Linked DNA regions of Homo sapiens: region 1 is linked to region 2. The links are contacts of gene promoters, found by promoter capture Hi-C in blood cells and fetal thymus (Javierre and others, 2016). All regions are on one chromosome and are shown on one strand. Each heading gives the region's core, a stretch centred on a gene start or on the middle of the fragment in contact. The rest is flanking DNA. Distances are from core to core; before and after follow the strand shown. Region 1 overlaps LOC112268235 (a long non-coding RNA gene). Region 2 holds the start of ATP1A1-AS1 (ATP1A1 antisense RNA 1).

Evidence for each region. Contacts are between HindIII fragments. The CHiCAGO score rates a contact against its expected background, and 5 or more counts as called.
Region 1: a contact is called between a fragment that was not itself captured here and the fragment with the promoter of ATP1A1-AS1 in region 2, in 1 of 17 cell types (M2 macrophages). The highest score is 5.1, in M2 macrophages.

The regions. Positions count from the first base shown.
Region 1 is chr1:116,492,150-116,499,849 of GRCh38, forward strand. It overlaps LOC112268235 (a long non-coding RNA gene), which reads left to right. Exons shown (of 2, transcript XR_002958352.2): 1 at 1-1,344. Among named protein-coding and RNA genes, the nearest start is that of LINC01762, 17 kb to the left of the region's middle. RefSeq lists an enhancer at 6,886-6,985. The HindIII fragment of the contact is 1,376 bases long and covers 4,456-5,831 here.
Region 2 is chr1:116,413,357-116,420,136 of GRCh38, forward strand. It overlaps ATP1A1-AS1 (ATP1A1 antisense RNA 1), which reads right to left and starts at 5,266. Exons shown (of 3, transcript NR_027646.1): 1 at 5,103-5,266. It also overlaps the pseudogene RNU6-817P. RefSeq lists enhancers at 2,408-2,909, 5,091-5,385 and a silencer at 5,345-5,474. The HindIII fragment of the contact is 1,476 bases long and covers 4,396-5,871 here.

The DNA of each region.
Region 1 (7,700 bases), core at 3,894-6,393, 79 kb after region 2:
TTCTGTTCATAACCTACCTGGAGTCAGAATTATGTCTCTGTCACAGAGCAATTGGTTGCTATGGAAATGATCATAGCACCCCAGACAGGAGGCCTGCGTTGGAGAGAAGAGGGAGTGCTGTGCCCATTGGGGTGGGGGTGGGTATGGGGGAGGTGCTGCAGGAATCCTGAGTGTGACTTTTTAAGCTAGTACTGACTTGTCTAGGCCAACCTGGTCATCTTGACCCTCTTCCTACTCAAAGTTGTGTGTGTGTGTGTGTGTGACACTTCACTTATCCACACTCCCACGCACCCCACCCAAATATAAAACAAATGCTTCCCCTAACTTCTCTCTTCTACCTCCAAGTCCAACTTAAAGTTCACCTCCTCAATCTTCTGTGGTTAACCACCCCTGACTAACCCCTTCGCCAATCAAACCCCCCCCCCCATTCCTAGTGAGTTTGTACTTAATTCAATTGCATTGGAATCACTTGCATTCCTTCTCCTGGGCTTTTTTTTTTTTTTTTTTTTTTTTTTCTTACCGGGCTTATGTGCTTTATCTTCCCAACAGTATCCAGGCCCCACAGAAGTCCATCTGGGCCAGTTGGTTTTATCTTCCCACAGAGCCCAAGCCAAGCTTGGCTGACCACAGGCCCCTGATAAATGCTGCCCCCGACTCTCAGAGAGATGGACAGTCTCAGCCCCTGAGCCTGTCCACTTTAACCCATCCAATCTTACCTCCTGAGGATCAGTATGCCTAGAGCAATAGGCAAATTAGACAGCTCTGGATATAATTTTAAACACTGTCAACCCAATGAAAGGAGAAAAACTCTAAAGCTTCATTTGCCTAAAACGTCCTCAGATGAAAAAGGAAGAATGAGAAAACAGTTTAGTTATTTAAAACTGTCTTATTTTTGTGGGTTTTAACTCATTTATGTTTCAAGTTTGCCCTTAGTCTTGGTTGCCTGTCACCCACAGCAACTTTGACCTCCAGAACCCTTAGGGTTCACATGCAGTGACTCTCCCTTCTGGGTTTCCACTGAAGGACCTTGCGGGACTGTCCAGGTCAATGGCAGCTGTACATGGTGGGAGAACCTGGGCCTGTTCCAAAGTGCTTTATAGGACAAGGTTAAGCTCACAAACATGAGTTGTGGACTTGGGGCCTTTCCTTTGTCTAACGGGCAATATCCTTACATCCGGGACCTGGGGGTGCCGAGCCCGTGAACTTCCCTTGCGGCCTGTGGTTGGAGACAAATAGCTGTGCTGGCTCCGTTGGCAGAGTTGGTGTTGGTTTTGGTGCCCCAACCTCCTTTTTCTGGAATCTGCCCCATATTCAGTCCCCAGATGGAAGTAAGCTGATACTCAGGTAAGAAGGGGGCGAAAGTCAGGGTGCCTCTAGTGTGGAGTCGACGCTAGGGCTGGACGCCATGGTTCCACATCCCAGAGCCCATCTGAAAGACCTTCTTTGGCGTGCCGCTCAGAGCTGCTCAGAGAGCGTGGAGCTCGGCCCCCAGCTCAGCCCAGGGCTCTGTGCACTCATGGAAAGGGGCATCGTGCCTGGAAACGCGAGCGGCCATTCTGGCGCAGGGACAGGGCCTGGGCGTCTGTGTGTGCTCGTGCCCAGTTGAGAGACTTGGACGGGGCGCGGAGGGCTTGCTTCTTTCCCAACCTAAGGGCTGTTTCAGTGAGGTCGTCCTTCTGAGGCCTGAGATGGTGCCGGGGGTGGCCTCACCAGGAAAAGGCGCAAGGCAAACATTGAACAGACAGGCTGGAGCTCCCAGGAGGAGCTTTGGTCCGTGGCAACTGGGAGAAGGGCCTCTTTTGGGGACAGCTGATAAAAAAGCTGCCACCCTATCCTCCAGCTCCCCCACCTCAGGGCCCCACTGGAAGACAGGCTTGACTTTCTTCATCCCGCGCAGCACGGGCTTGGTGAAGCTGGAAGGAACCCTCTCATGCAGTCTCCCGGCTTCTGCTTCCGACTGAACCCTCCAGCCTAGGCTTCAGGCCAGGCCTCTGTCCCCACACAATGGGGACTTGGATAGTGATTTTTAGGATTCTTTCTAGCTTTCTACCCTGACTAGAAAAGAGAAGAGGAAGTGCCCCGTTGGCTCTGCCGTGGACCAGAAGACCTTCCCCTACTGCTCATATTTAGTTAGCAATTACCCAAGGTGTCCAAGGCCCCTCCAACACTGTCACTCACTGCTAGGAGAGGCCAGAACTCCAACTCAGGCTGTGCGGCTGGCTGCAAGGGGGTGACGTCTGGGTTAGCTGTTTGGAGACGGAACCACAGGTCAGCTTTAGAGCTGATGGCGCCTTCATGGGCACAACGGGAAACCAAGACAGGCAGTTACCAAGTGATCCTTCAGCATCTGGGCGAGACGCTTTGTCTTTCCCAGAGAAACTATTTCAATGAGTTCTTCCCGGGAGAGAGGGAAAACAAAGCTCAAATACCAGAGCCGCAGAAACCGCCTGAGGCTGATTTGCTCTGACAGGCCGGCGGCTGCCCTCTCCCAGGGACAGCCTTGGTCCAAAAGAATAAAGGAGACCTTGCAGGCCAGAACCCAAAAGTGCAAGGTGCAGGTTTGCAAAGTGTGTCCCTCAGGCTCTGTGCATCCCCAATCCAGAAGTTGAACACCCATCCACATGGTGCCTTCACAGCACATGAAGAAAAAGAGGGGCAGGTTGCAGAGGAGCAGGACAGGGGGACGTGTTGCCAAGAGCAGGCAAAGGTCTGACCTGATGGCAGCTCTGAATTGGGTCTGGCGGGAGTTGGAGGTAACTGCATTATGGGAAAGACTGAAAGGTTAATATGAAACCAGCTGATACTGAAAGAGAACAATTAGGAAGGTTAAGGGGTTTAATATTAGATAAATGGCTGCCAGAGGATAAAGTTCACAACTTCCATGAAAGAAGTCTGACTCAGAGAATTCTTTTTAGTGGACCAGACCAAGGTCTGATTTTGTTATTTTTTTTTCTTCCCAGTAACTGAGAGAAAATTACCATTCATTCACATAAGATTCATTCTCTTCCCTCCTCCTGCTCCTTCCTCCGGCTTCCCATCTCTCTCCTGTTTGGAAATGTCTGATTTCCTTCCAGTTCTGGAATGAATCAGGGTCCCACCTTCCAGTCTGCATACCCCACACTCCTCTCCACCTGTAGGGGTTCTTTCTCAGTGAGATTTGTGGGGCCCTACAAGAATATTTTTGTCAGTGTTGCTTGTATTCTGGAAATATTTCAGGCCACTAAGCGATCTCACAGATCAGTAGTCAACCCAGGCGAGACATTCCGAGCCAATAAGGAGTTAACCCAAACATGGGGAGACGGGCTGGTTGATTTGAGGTGGCTGAGGAGATTGGGGGAGATGGGGAATTCTCATAGTCTCCAAACCCAGCAATTCCTTCCTGGGAGTTTTTTAAACATTCCTTCCTGGGAGAAGGGCCTCTGATGGGGACAGCTGATAAAGGAGCTGCCACCCCCTCCTCCAGCTCCCCACCCCCGTGCCCCACTGGAAGACAGGCTTGATTTCCACATCCTGCCTAGCACGGGCTTGGTGAAGCTGGCAGAAGCCCTCTCATCAGTCTCTGTTCTTCTGTCTGGACTGAACCCTCCAGCCCAGGCTTCAGGCCAGGCCTTTGTCTGAACAGATTCCCAGGCCCCACCCACCCTCGACTAACTGAATTTGAATCTTTGAGGGCACAGTCTGGGCATCTGCATATTCTGAAGTTCCTCGATGACCCCATGACCTGCCCAGTTTGGGAACCACTGGCTCAGGGGCCACATGGAAAAAAGGCCAGGCAGGGAGGGGCCGGGGCCTCTCAGACTTTGGGCTGGGCCATTTGTGTGATTCCCTAGTTCCCATCCCAGCCAGTGAGTTTCTTGGAGCAGACATTTCCTCTTACTTATCCCCTCTTACAATCCCCACACAGGGCTGGCCACGTTTAGTATGTGGGAGCTGAATTAAGTTTCCAAATCTCATGGCTCATGTCTGTAATCCCAATATTTTGGGAGGCCAAGGCGGGAGGATCACCTGAGCCCAGAAATTTGAGACCAGCCTGGGCAACATGGGAAGACCCTGTCTCTACAAAAATTTAAACGTTAAAAATATTTTTTAATTAAAATTTTGAAATGTCTCCCCTTCCTAGACCCTGAACCTGTTCAGTTCTCAAGTTGACATGTTCAGAGGCCTGGCTGGTAGAGCCCGGGCCTGGTCCCACAGAATCAGCATGGTCCTGAAACACAAGAGCACAGGAGGCAAAGCTGGAAGGGCCCTTAGAGAACCTCTAGTCCAATAGCTTTCAAATTGTAATCCTAGGTACCCTGGGGTCCCATGGTGGAACCTCAGAGAGCAGGAAAAGGGAAGGGCAGAGGCTCAGTGGGAGGAAATGCCGGCCCTCCCCCCACCTCCACCCTTCCTTCAACCAGGCCAGCTCTGCTTTCACAGCTTTGTGTGACTTTCGCAATAACCAAATGGCTTCCAAGCTTCTCCCCTTGCCAACCCCACCCCCAGCCCCTGTCTATTTTCCATCTGGTGTCCAGAATGATCATTTCAAAACATAAGGCTCATCATGTCCCTCTTCTGTTCAAGACCCTACATTTGGCTTTCCATTTCACTCAACAGCAATCCAAGGTCCTCTTCATGGCCGGCAAGTCCCACCTGTTCTCACCCCGGCTGCCCCTACCTCATCTCAGCCACGCTGGCCTCCTTCGTATCCCTGAATGCACCAAGCAGGCTCTTATCCGACACCTGGGCAGGTCTTCTTCCTTCTGCTGGAAACACTCTTCCCCAAATAGCTGCATCCCTTGCTTCCTCTTGTCCTGACCACCCTATCAAAAAAGGCATCCTGTTCCATCAGCCCAGCCCCTTCCTGTACTGTACTGACTGTCCCTACTGAAATATAGGCTCCACGAAGGGGAGGACTTTGTTTTTTTTTCACTGCTATGTCCCCAGCACCAAGAACAACAGTGGCTGGCACATAGTAGGTGCTCAATAAATAATGATTTCCTGATTTAATCAGATTGGTTTTGAGTCTAAAGTTATTTTGTACGTTTTCTTCTTTACACATTTCTCTATTTTTCAAATTTTCTGCAGTAAATATGCATGTTTTTACCATCAGAAAAAGCAGTAAATGACATAGTCTTTTCTCTAGGACCAATCTTTGGGAGACTCAGAGCTGCTAGAGAATAATTTAAGAAGATGAAGGGAGGCCCTGCCTTGAGCCCCTGGTTCTGAGCAGCACCAGGTCGGTCCTGGTAGACTATAACAATACCACTGATTCCTAATGGTGGATGGGGGAACTTAGTGGGGCTAAGCAGACCCCACTTACCTAACAGCATTTTGTCTTGGGGTCACTGGGGAAGGAGAGAGAAGGAGTGAAAACACGACCAGCAGCAACCCCCTCCCCACTGAAATGCACCAGGATCTCCCTAACCCGATACAACAGACATGAGGACATGGGCTCCCAAGCACCCTCCAGTAAGGCATTGTGGCCATAGGTCATTCTTTAACTGGCACAACTGGCTTTTCTCAGACAGACTTTCTCTTTATTTTCTTCAGGGACTATTACTCTGAGGCCTAGTACCTGCTGCCTCTGCTTATATGACTGAATCTAGAACAAAGAAGAAACATCTTAGCTGAGGGGTCAGGGCTCTGGCCTGACAGAAACCCTGTGGTCTTGTCTCCATGTCAGAGCCCCATGACTCCAAGTGGGTGGGAGTCCTGGGCTCGCCCATGACTCATTGTTCGAGTTCGTAGAGAACTCAGAAGTTCCATATGGAAGCACAGCCTCACAGGCTAGAGACAATTCAGGAAACGAAAGCCCCATTCACTTGATTATTGGTTCATTTTCTGATGGAAGCTTTGCTGATCCTCTTTCATAAGGACCATCTGAAATAGACAACTGAAAAGAGAACTAGGGGGCCATTTCCCTTCCCTCCTCTAGCCCCTGAGCTCGGTCATCAGAGTCATGTGGACCCTAGCCCCTGGAGCTGGATAGGGCCCAGGGGTCATCTGGCCACTGTCTGTTTCATTGTGACTTACCAGGCAGGCCCCCTGATACTCAGGGACACAGCTGCCTGCCTCCTGGGCTGACTTTCCTGCAATGCTCTAGAGCGGAGCCAGCCAGCTTCTCCAAGAAGCCGGTGGTAAATACTCGCTCTGGGCACTGTCACCTTTTCTTTGTTTTTTCCTTACAACCCTTTAGAAACATAAAACCATCCTGAGCTCACGGGCTTCACAGAAACAGGCTGTGAGGATAGGCAAAGTACAGCCCATGAGCAAGACCCAGCCCACTGCCTGTTTTTGTAAAATAAAGTTTTAGTGGACACAGCCCTGCTGATCTCTTGATGAATTGCCTATGGCTGCTTCCACGCTACTACAATCGTGGAATTCTGTAGTTGAGACAGAGCCTGTAAGGTCAATAAAGCCAAAAATAGTTTCTATCTGTCCCTTCATAGAAAACATCTGCCAAGCCCTTCTCTAAAGTTTCATATGCATTCGTTCCTATTTAACACTCAAAACAATTTTTGAGATTAGTATTAGAGATGAGTATTCCTAATCTTACAGATGAAGAAACCGAGAACGAGAAAGGATAAGGCTTGCTCAAGGTCACATGGCTAATGAGGGGCAGAACCAGAACCCAAACCCAGATCTCATCTCTAAACCAGGGCTTCTTCACCTGGTGAAGCCGCTCCCGAAAGGTGGCAATTGTGAAGCGTGGAATATATCTCCTGTTCAGCCCCATCAAGTAGGGTAGCAGCAGGTTCCTTGGTGCCACGGTCTGAGAGAGACAAACTGACCTTGAACAGAAACTCTTAAGATTCTCACCAAATCCCACTGTGCAGAGAATGTCTCCAAGCCCAGTGTGCTCTCTGTGCACAGGAAAGATTCCTTTGGCAAGCTGGCTGGCTGGCAGGAGAGCTGTCCCCTAAAAGCCAAGTTTGGCTTCTGTTAAACATTTAACAACAGGTCGTCACTTCACTGTGAAGAGCCACAGAGCTGCTGCCATCTTCCCATGGAGACGTGGACTGCCCTTGGATCCCCCCAGGTCCCAGGGCTGCCATTTCCTCTAACTGCTGGGAACAGCTATGCCATTATTTGTATGAGAGAGACCCCCAGTGGATATTGCTGGTATCACTGTCCCTAAAAGCAGCTCGGCAAACACCTTCCAGGCTCCCAGAAGCTGGGTGTGTTCAAGATTATTACATTTGAGTAATTGCCCCAGTACCTAAAACCCAATGAGCATTGTCCTCTTCAAAATCCTTCCCGAGGGAGGTTGGTGCCTGCATGTTCTAACAATGCTGCCATTTCACAGAATGTATTTGGAACGCTTCCTTCAAACCTGATTTTTTTTTCTTTTTCTTTTTCTTTTTCTTTTTTTTTTTTTTTTTTGTGAGACGGAGTTTTGCTCTTGTTGCCCAGGCTGGAGTGCAATGGTACGATCTCGGCTCACCACAACCTCTGCCTCCTGGGTTCAACCGATTCTCCTGCCTCAGCCTCCTGAGTAGCTGAGATTATAGGCATGTGCCACCGTGCCCAGCTAATTTTGTATTTTCACTAGAGACAGGGTTTCTCCATGTTGTTTAGGCTGGTCTCGAACTCCCAACCTCGGGTAATCTGCCCGCCTCGGCCTCCCAAAGTGCTGGGATTACAGGCATGAGCCACTGCGCTTGGCCTGCACCTGATTTTATTATGACCTTTCACATGCTTTTAGAGTCTTTTCTGTG
Region 2 (6,780 bases), core at 4,016-6,515:
ACTGGCTACTGTTTTTCACTCAACGGATTTTAGAGCACACCCAGAATGGTGGACCATGTGCCACATGCTGGGGGAATGGAATTGAGCAAAACAAACACATAGGCCCACTCCCTGTTACAGTCTGGTGGGGAAGACAGTGCAATGAGCAGGTCTTAAGAGGATGTGTGGTAAGTGCCAGAAGAGGAAAATCCCCTGGTACCACAGAAAACCACAGGTGGAGCCTAACCAAGCCTCAGGGGTTGGGAGGAGGCTCCTGGGGAAAATAAGGATGGGCTCCGGGCAGGCCCTGCTGGTTGCCTGCCAAATGTACATGCCCTCCCCTTGGTCTTTACCCATCCCATGCTCCACTGGGGTATCCCAATTTTTCTGGATCTTTTTTCTTTACACTTTTTTCCATTTATTTACTTATAAAAATACGGAATGCTTCATGAATTTGCACAGCATCCTTGCACAGGGGTCATGGTCATCTCTGTGTGGTTCCAATTTTAGCATACATGCTTCCAAAGCCAGCACTCTTCACTTTTTTCACCACACTCAGCTCTCCTTCCTTTCTTCTCCTAAAAGGTAACCAACCATTTTAATGTTTATCTTCTTATTTCAATGTGTTCTTGCAACATGGGTATTGTTTTGTGTGTGTGTATGTACTTTTAAACTTTTATCATGAAAATTCTCTAAGGTACACAAAAGTAGAGAAGATAATATCACAAACTTCCATGTAGCCATCATGTAGTTTGAACAATTTTACCAACATTTTGCCAATTGTGTTTTATCTAGTCTCTCCTCTCCATCCCTACTTCTTTCTTTCAGAAGTATTTTAAGACAATCCCAGACATGGTTTCACCCATTATACATCTCAGTATGCATGTTCAACAGAAAATGACTTTTCCAAAAAACTCATAACCACCAAGTAGATTCTTTTTTTCTTTTTTTTTTTTTTTTGCTATGAGTACTCCTGATCCTTCCTATGATACTCCAGTTGCTTCTAACTGCTACACAGTGCTTTTTGTGTGCACGCCCCACATGTGACCTATTATTTTTCACAATAATTGACACTCAGTTGGTGGGCAACTCCCTTCCACCACTAATAAGACTGCAGGAGCATCCTCACACAGGTCTTCTCCTGGCCTTTGTGAGAATTTCTCCTGGGACAGAACTGTGGGTCACATGATATATTCATTTACATAATTTCACCAAGAAGACCAGACTGCCCTCCAGAATGGCTGCACCAGTCCACAGTCTCACCAGCAGCGTGAGGTTCCCATGTCTGCACACCCTGCCAATCACTGGAATTGTCCAGCTGGCTTTTTTTCTTTTTTTTTAATTTTCTCAGACCTCGCAGGTTTCTATTAATAATTGTTTTCAGTCTATGTAAAGTCTCATTTAAATTCATATTTTTGATGATTAACAATGATTTTGAGCATTTTATCATATTTTGTAAGATTTTAGGGTTAATTCTTCCATAAATGGCATGTTCATATCTTTTACTCATTTTTCTATGGGGTTGCTGTCTTTTTCCTGATTTGTAGGAATTCCTTGTGTATTCTAGATATTAGTCAGTTTTAGACACTGCAAGCATCTTTTCCCATTCTGTCATTTGGTCCTACTTTTTGATCACTTTTGTATCCGCCTTTCTCTCCCACCTTCAGCTCCAGGGGGATCTCCTGCTCAGTCTCATCTACTCATGAGACTCCTATACCCCCTTGCCAGTGATGGATTTAGGAATACAGTTGTGACCAATTCTCTACAACATAGTGAATTCAGCCAGAGGGCTTCCAAGAAAAATTTCTTCACTCCTCAGAGACACAAGAAGATCTAGTCTCTGTCTCTCCTCCCGCTGAGTGTTCTCTGGATATGACATGGAGCTTCTGTAACCATCTTACTACCAGTTTGAGGATAAAACCCACCATGAAGGCATGGTACTGTTGGTGGCAGAGTTAAGCCACTGTATTAACCACCTTGGGGCCTGCATCACCTCTAGTCTTCCCTTTAAGTGAGATAATAAATGTCCTCCTCATCTAAGTTAGATTGAGCCAGGATTTCTGACACTTGCAGTGAGAAGGATATGGACAGATGCAGCCTCTAAGCCAGGGGTTTTTGAATCTTTTTTTTTTTTTTAATCGCAATCACCAGTAAGAATTTGGCTTTTTATATCATGATCCCGCATCCACATAACAAACAGCACTTAACTTCATGGTGTCTAATGTGCTCAGATAGCCTCTTTTCTATTTCCTTTAATCTTTTTGTCTTTGTTTTTCTGGAGGGTGTGGGGGACGGTAATGCTCAATGTAACCTACTAAATTAATTACACAAGCTACTAATGGGTCATGACCCACAGTTTGAAAAACATTGCTCTAGGTCTCAGGCCTCTGAACTGAGGCCTGTAAGAATAATGGGCTTTAGTCAAGTAAGATCTGCAGTGGGGAGCGAGGATGGTGGGGAGGGTGTTTTCTAGGAAAGAATACTGTACAGAGGCCCTCAGCAGGATGGGGCCAATCAGATACCTCCCTCCCCCAAGTGTGACCACAGAGTGAGCCCTTGATAAACCTTTGTTGATTGGTTGTGTTCCCTCCCACAGCTCTCCTCCCAGGGTGCCTTTCTGCAACCTTATTCTATGAATAGATGAGAGCTCTTATCTCCCCTCTGCCTGACCCTCAGGACACAGAAGGGTTGGGGGGGGGGAGGGCCCTGAAGTCGGCTAATTAGAGATGGCTGGGAGGATTACTAGGGCCTTGCTCTGGCAGCTGTGCCCACCTCTAAATTCAATATCCAGAACCTGCAGAGAAAGGGCTCACCTTGATAAGCTCCGGAGACAAAGCAGGAGACAGATAGGGTTTGTTCTCAACAGAGCACTCACCCTCTGAATACAGTTTTTGTTTAAGCCCCAAGGCTGGGAACATTCCACAGCCTGGCAAACTCCCTGTCTCCTCAAGGTCAGTCCTTCCTCAGCATTCCTCTTTGGAAACGTCTCCCACGGCTGGCCCTGCTCCTGCCCCCTGGCTTTAGGGGCAGTTATATAACTCTTAGGAAGACCTAGAAATGCAAGCATATGGTGTCCTCAATTCCCAGCACAGACTTGCTGCTTCACATTTTTAGCTGGTGCTGAGAGACTGGCTTTCACACACAGACACACACACATACACATCCCTGACTCATAACTACATTTCTGCTGCAGTATTGCAGATTTCTAAAAAATTAAATCCTACATCTGGAGCCACATAAGGGTGAAAGCATAGGACATTTTGTCCCAGTAACTGTGGGGATAGAAAGGCCTCTGAGGCAGGACACAAAGGCCATATCAGGGCCACTGCAGGGCCAGAGGTCCTAGCACCCCTGGCTTTGGCTCTGAGGGTTTGGTTGCTTGCAGCTGAATTCCCTAACCAAAGCCTGTCATGTGTGGTGCCAAGCTCACAAATTCAGCATGCATCTACTATGTGTTTGCAATGACTAAAAGGTTACAGAAGGCAGCCTGGATTGCGGGGATCGGGGATACTTAGAAAATACGTTCTGCAAAATGTTGTATTAGAGGTTCTGAAAATTAAGATACAGAAAACATTTTACTTAATGAAGAAAATAGGGTAAATATGTTCAAAGGAGTATAGTTGTTAAAAGCAAACTGTTTAGAGTCAAGATCAACCCAGATTCACTTTCTGGTTCTCTGCAGCTTACTAGCTGTGACCTTCAACAAGTCTCTCTTAACCTGAGTCTTAGCTTTCCAATATGTAAAATGGACACAGCATTGTGAGGGTGGTTGGGAGGATTAAATGAGATCAGAGAATTTAGCACCATGACTGTAAAGAGAAAGGGCTCTACAAATGTAGCTGGTACTACAATTCACTTTTTTTTTTTTGAGACAGGACCTGACTGTCACCCAGGCTGGAGTGCACTGGCATGATTACAGCTCACTGCAGCCTCGACCTGCCAGGCTCAAGCCATCCTCCCACCTCAGCCTCCAGAGTAACTGGGACTACAGGCATGCGCCACCACATCCTGCTAATTTTTATATTTTTTGTAGAGATGGGGTTTTTGCATGTTGCCAGGCTGATTTCAAACTTCTGAGCTCAAGCCATCTGCCTGCCTTGGCCTCCTAAAGTGTTGGGATTATAGGCAAATGAGCCACCACGCCAGCCCACAATTCACTTTAAACACAAGTGAAACACATTTCATTAGACAGTGGAATAGACTTATGTCAATTTTCTTTTCTCTCTTATTTTACACAGTCTGATTTCCTGAAGACAGGAGGCGGGAGTAAGCTAATCAGGCCCTGAGTTAGCTGTTTCCAAGAAGCTTAGAGTGTCCCACTTACCTACGGGTTGCAGGGCCCGCATTGCCAGTAGGGCTGGCTTTTAGGGATGCTGCTGTTGGTGTGTGCTGTACTTGTTTTCTAGGATTGGGACAAGCTTCCTTGAGCTCCTGACTTTAGAGACCAGGTTTGGGAACTGATGGGTGCAGCAAATGCAAACAGACAGCAAACAGGCCAAAGAGGAGATTCATTCACTGAAGAGGGCCCTGGTACAGTACTGTCGAGGTTTTGCGGTGGCCTGGACACGGCTGGCTCCTTCGACTTACACAATATATCTTCTCTCTCTCTTACCTGCACTTATAAGAATCGGTGCTAAGGGTATGTGCCTACCACAGTGCAGCTTGTAGATTAATGAAGAAAGAATTGCTGCCACTTCCCAAATATTAAACGCCAGGTTCTGCCTATGCATATTCTCTCAACCTTCACAACACACCTACTAACTCCAGCTTACAAATGAGGAGACGAACCAGCAGGCTGTTCCAGGCGTCTGGTTGTAAGAGCAGTGGCAGTAGAGAAAATGATTTATTTTAGCACCAGCCACTGTGCTAATCCCTTTAGATATCATCTCATTTAATCCTTTTAACAACCCTGAAGCACCATCCTTATTCTAAAGGGACTTCGGACCTCTCTGCGGTCCACACTGTCCCCTGCTCGGTGCAGGAGTGTAGACTGGGACTGTTCCGTCTGGTGGTCTCCCCGACAAGGGTTCACCTGGAAACTGGCCTTTGGGCTGGGATTGGGACTCTGTACTTAGGCTGGCAGCCCATATTAGGACTGGGCACCGTGATAAGCACTTTCTTACCGCAAATGCACGATTTCACTCGGCCCTCACACACCCCACGAGGTGGGCACCGTCACAGTGCCATCTCACAGGCAAGGAGGCCAGGCCCAGGCCCTGAGGATGCGCCGCTCAGGTGGGAGCTTCCGGGGAGCTCGCGCGACAGCCTGGGGGAGCGCGGATTCGTCTCTGCGCTACGGCGGCTGCAGAGGGTCAACCCGCGGAGGCGGCGCTTCGCGGCGGGTCCTCGGCCTGAGGCTGTGGGATGCCTCCAAACCCGGCGCGGCCTCCGTCTGCAAGGAGAGCAGAGGGTCCCCGCCGGGAGCGCGCCCGGCTGCGGCCCCAGGCGGCCCTGCCCGCAGCCGCCACCTGAGCTTGGGCGCGGCTCCTATCTCCCACCCGCGCGTCGGCCAGTGAAGGGCTCCGTGCTTAAACATCATTCGTTACAGAAGTATTGCGGCCATCACACGGCATTTTAAAAACACGAATGATGATAAATAACTTTAACACTGCTTCCAATTCTGCCTCCAAGCACAGCATCATTACCATTTGCATGCGTTTCACTTCATTCGATTTCCATGTGTATGGATTTGTTTCTACATAGCTGTGGTAAAACGCACATACTAAACTGAATCCAGGGTTGTTTTCCACTTTGTAACATGAACATTTTCACCGTGTTAGTACTGACGCTTCCTACCTATAATTTTTAATGGCAGGACTTTAAAAAATTGGGTTGATACGCTGTCACTTCTCTGAGCATCTCGCAAATGTTCAACATTCAAGTGGCTTCCAAAGCTTCACGATTATAAATTATTCATTCTTTTTTGTTTTGTTTGGTTGTTTGTTTGTTTGTTTGTTTGTTTTTTGAGACGATGTCTCGCTCTTGTCGCCCAGGCTGGAGTGCAGTGGCGCGATCTCAGCTCACTGCAACCTTCGCCTTCCAGGTTCAAGAGATTCTCCTGCCTCAGCCTCCTGAGTAGCTGAGATTACGGGCATCTGCCACCACGCCCACCTAATTTTTGTACTTTCAGTAGAGACGGGGTTTCATCATGTTGGCCAGGCTGGTCTCGAACTTCTGACCTCAGGTGCTTCTCCCTCGACCCGGCCTCGGCCTCCCAAAGTGCTGGGATTACAGCACTTTGCTGCCCAGCCCATTCTTGTGTATAAAGTCCTTTCAGTATTGAGATCAGTTTCCTTAGGTTATATTCACAGGAGTGAAACTGCTAAGTCAGAATGTGAGCATTTAAAAGCTTTCAGTATTATTGCCAAATGGCTTTTCACAGATGACTCAGGGAGGTTTTGGTACTTGGAACACTGCTACTTATATCCCACTCCCCCCCCCCCCCACCAGGAAAACATCTAAAGTGCACTTTTTTTTTTTTTTTTTTTTTTTTTGTGAGACGGTATCTCGCTCTGTCGCCCAGGCTGGAGTGCAGTGGCGCGATCTCCGTTCACTGCAAGCTCCGCCTCCCAGGTTCACGCCATTCTCCTGCCTCAGCCTCCTGAGTAGCTGGGACTACAGGCGCCCGCCACCACGCCCGGCTAATTTTTGTGTTTTTAGTAGAGACGGGGTTTCACCGTGTTAGCCAGGATGGTCTGGATCTCTGACCTTGTGATCCGCCCGCCTCGGCCTCCCAAAGTGCTGGGATTACAGGCGTGAGCCACCGCGCCCGGCTAAAATGCAGTTTCATTAAGAGATAGT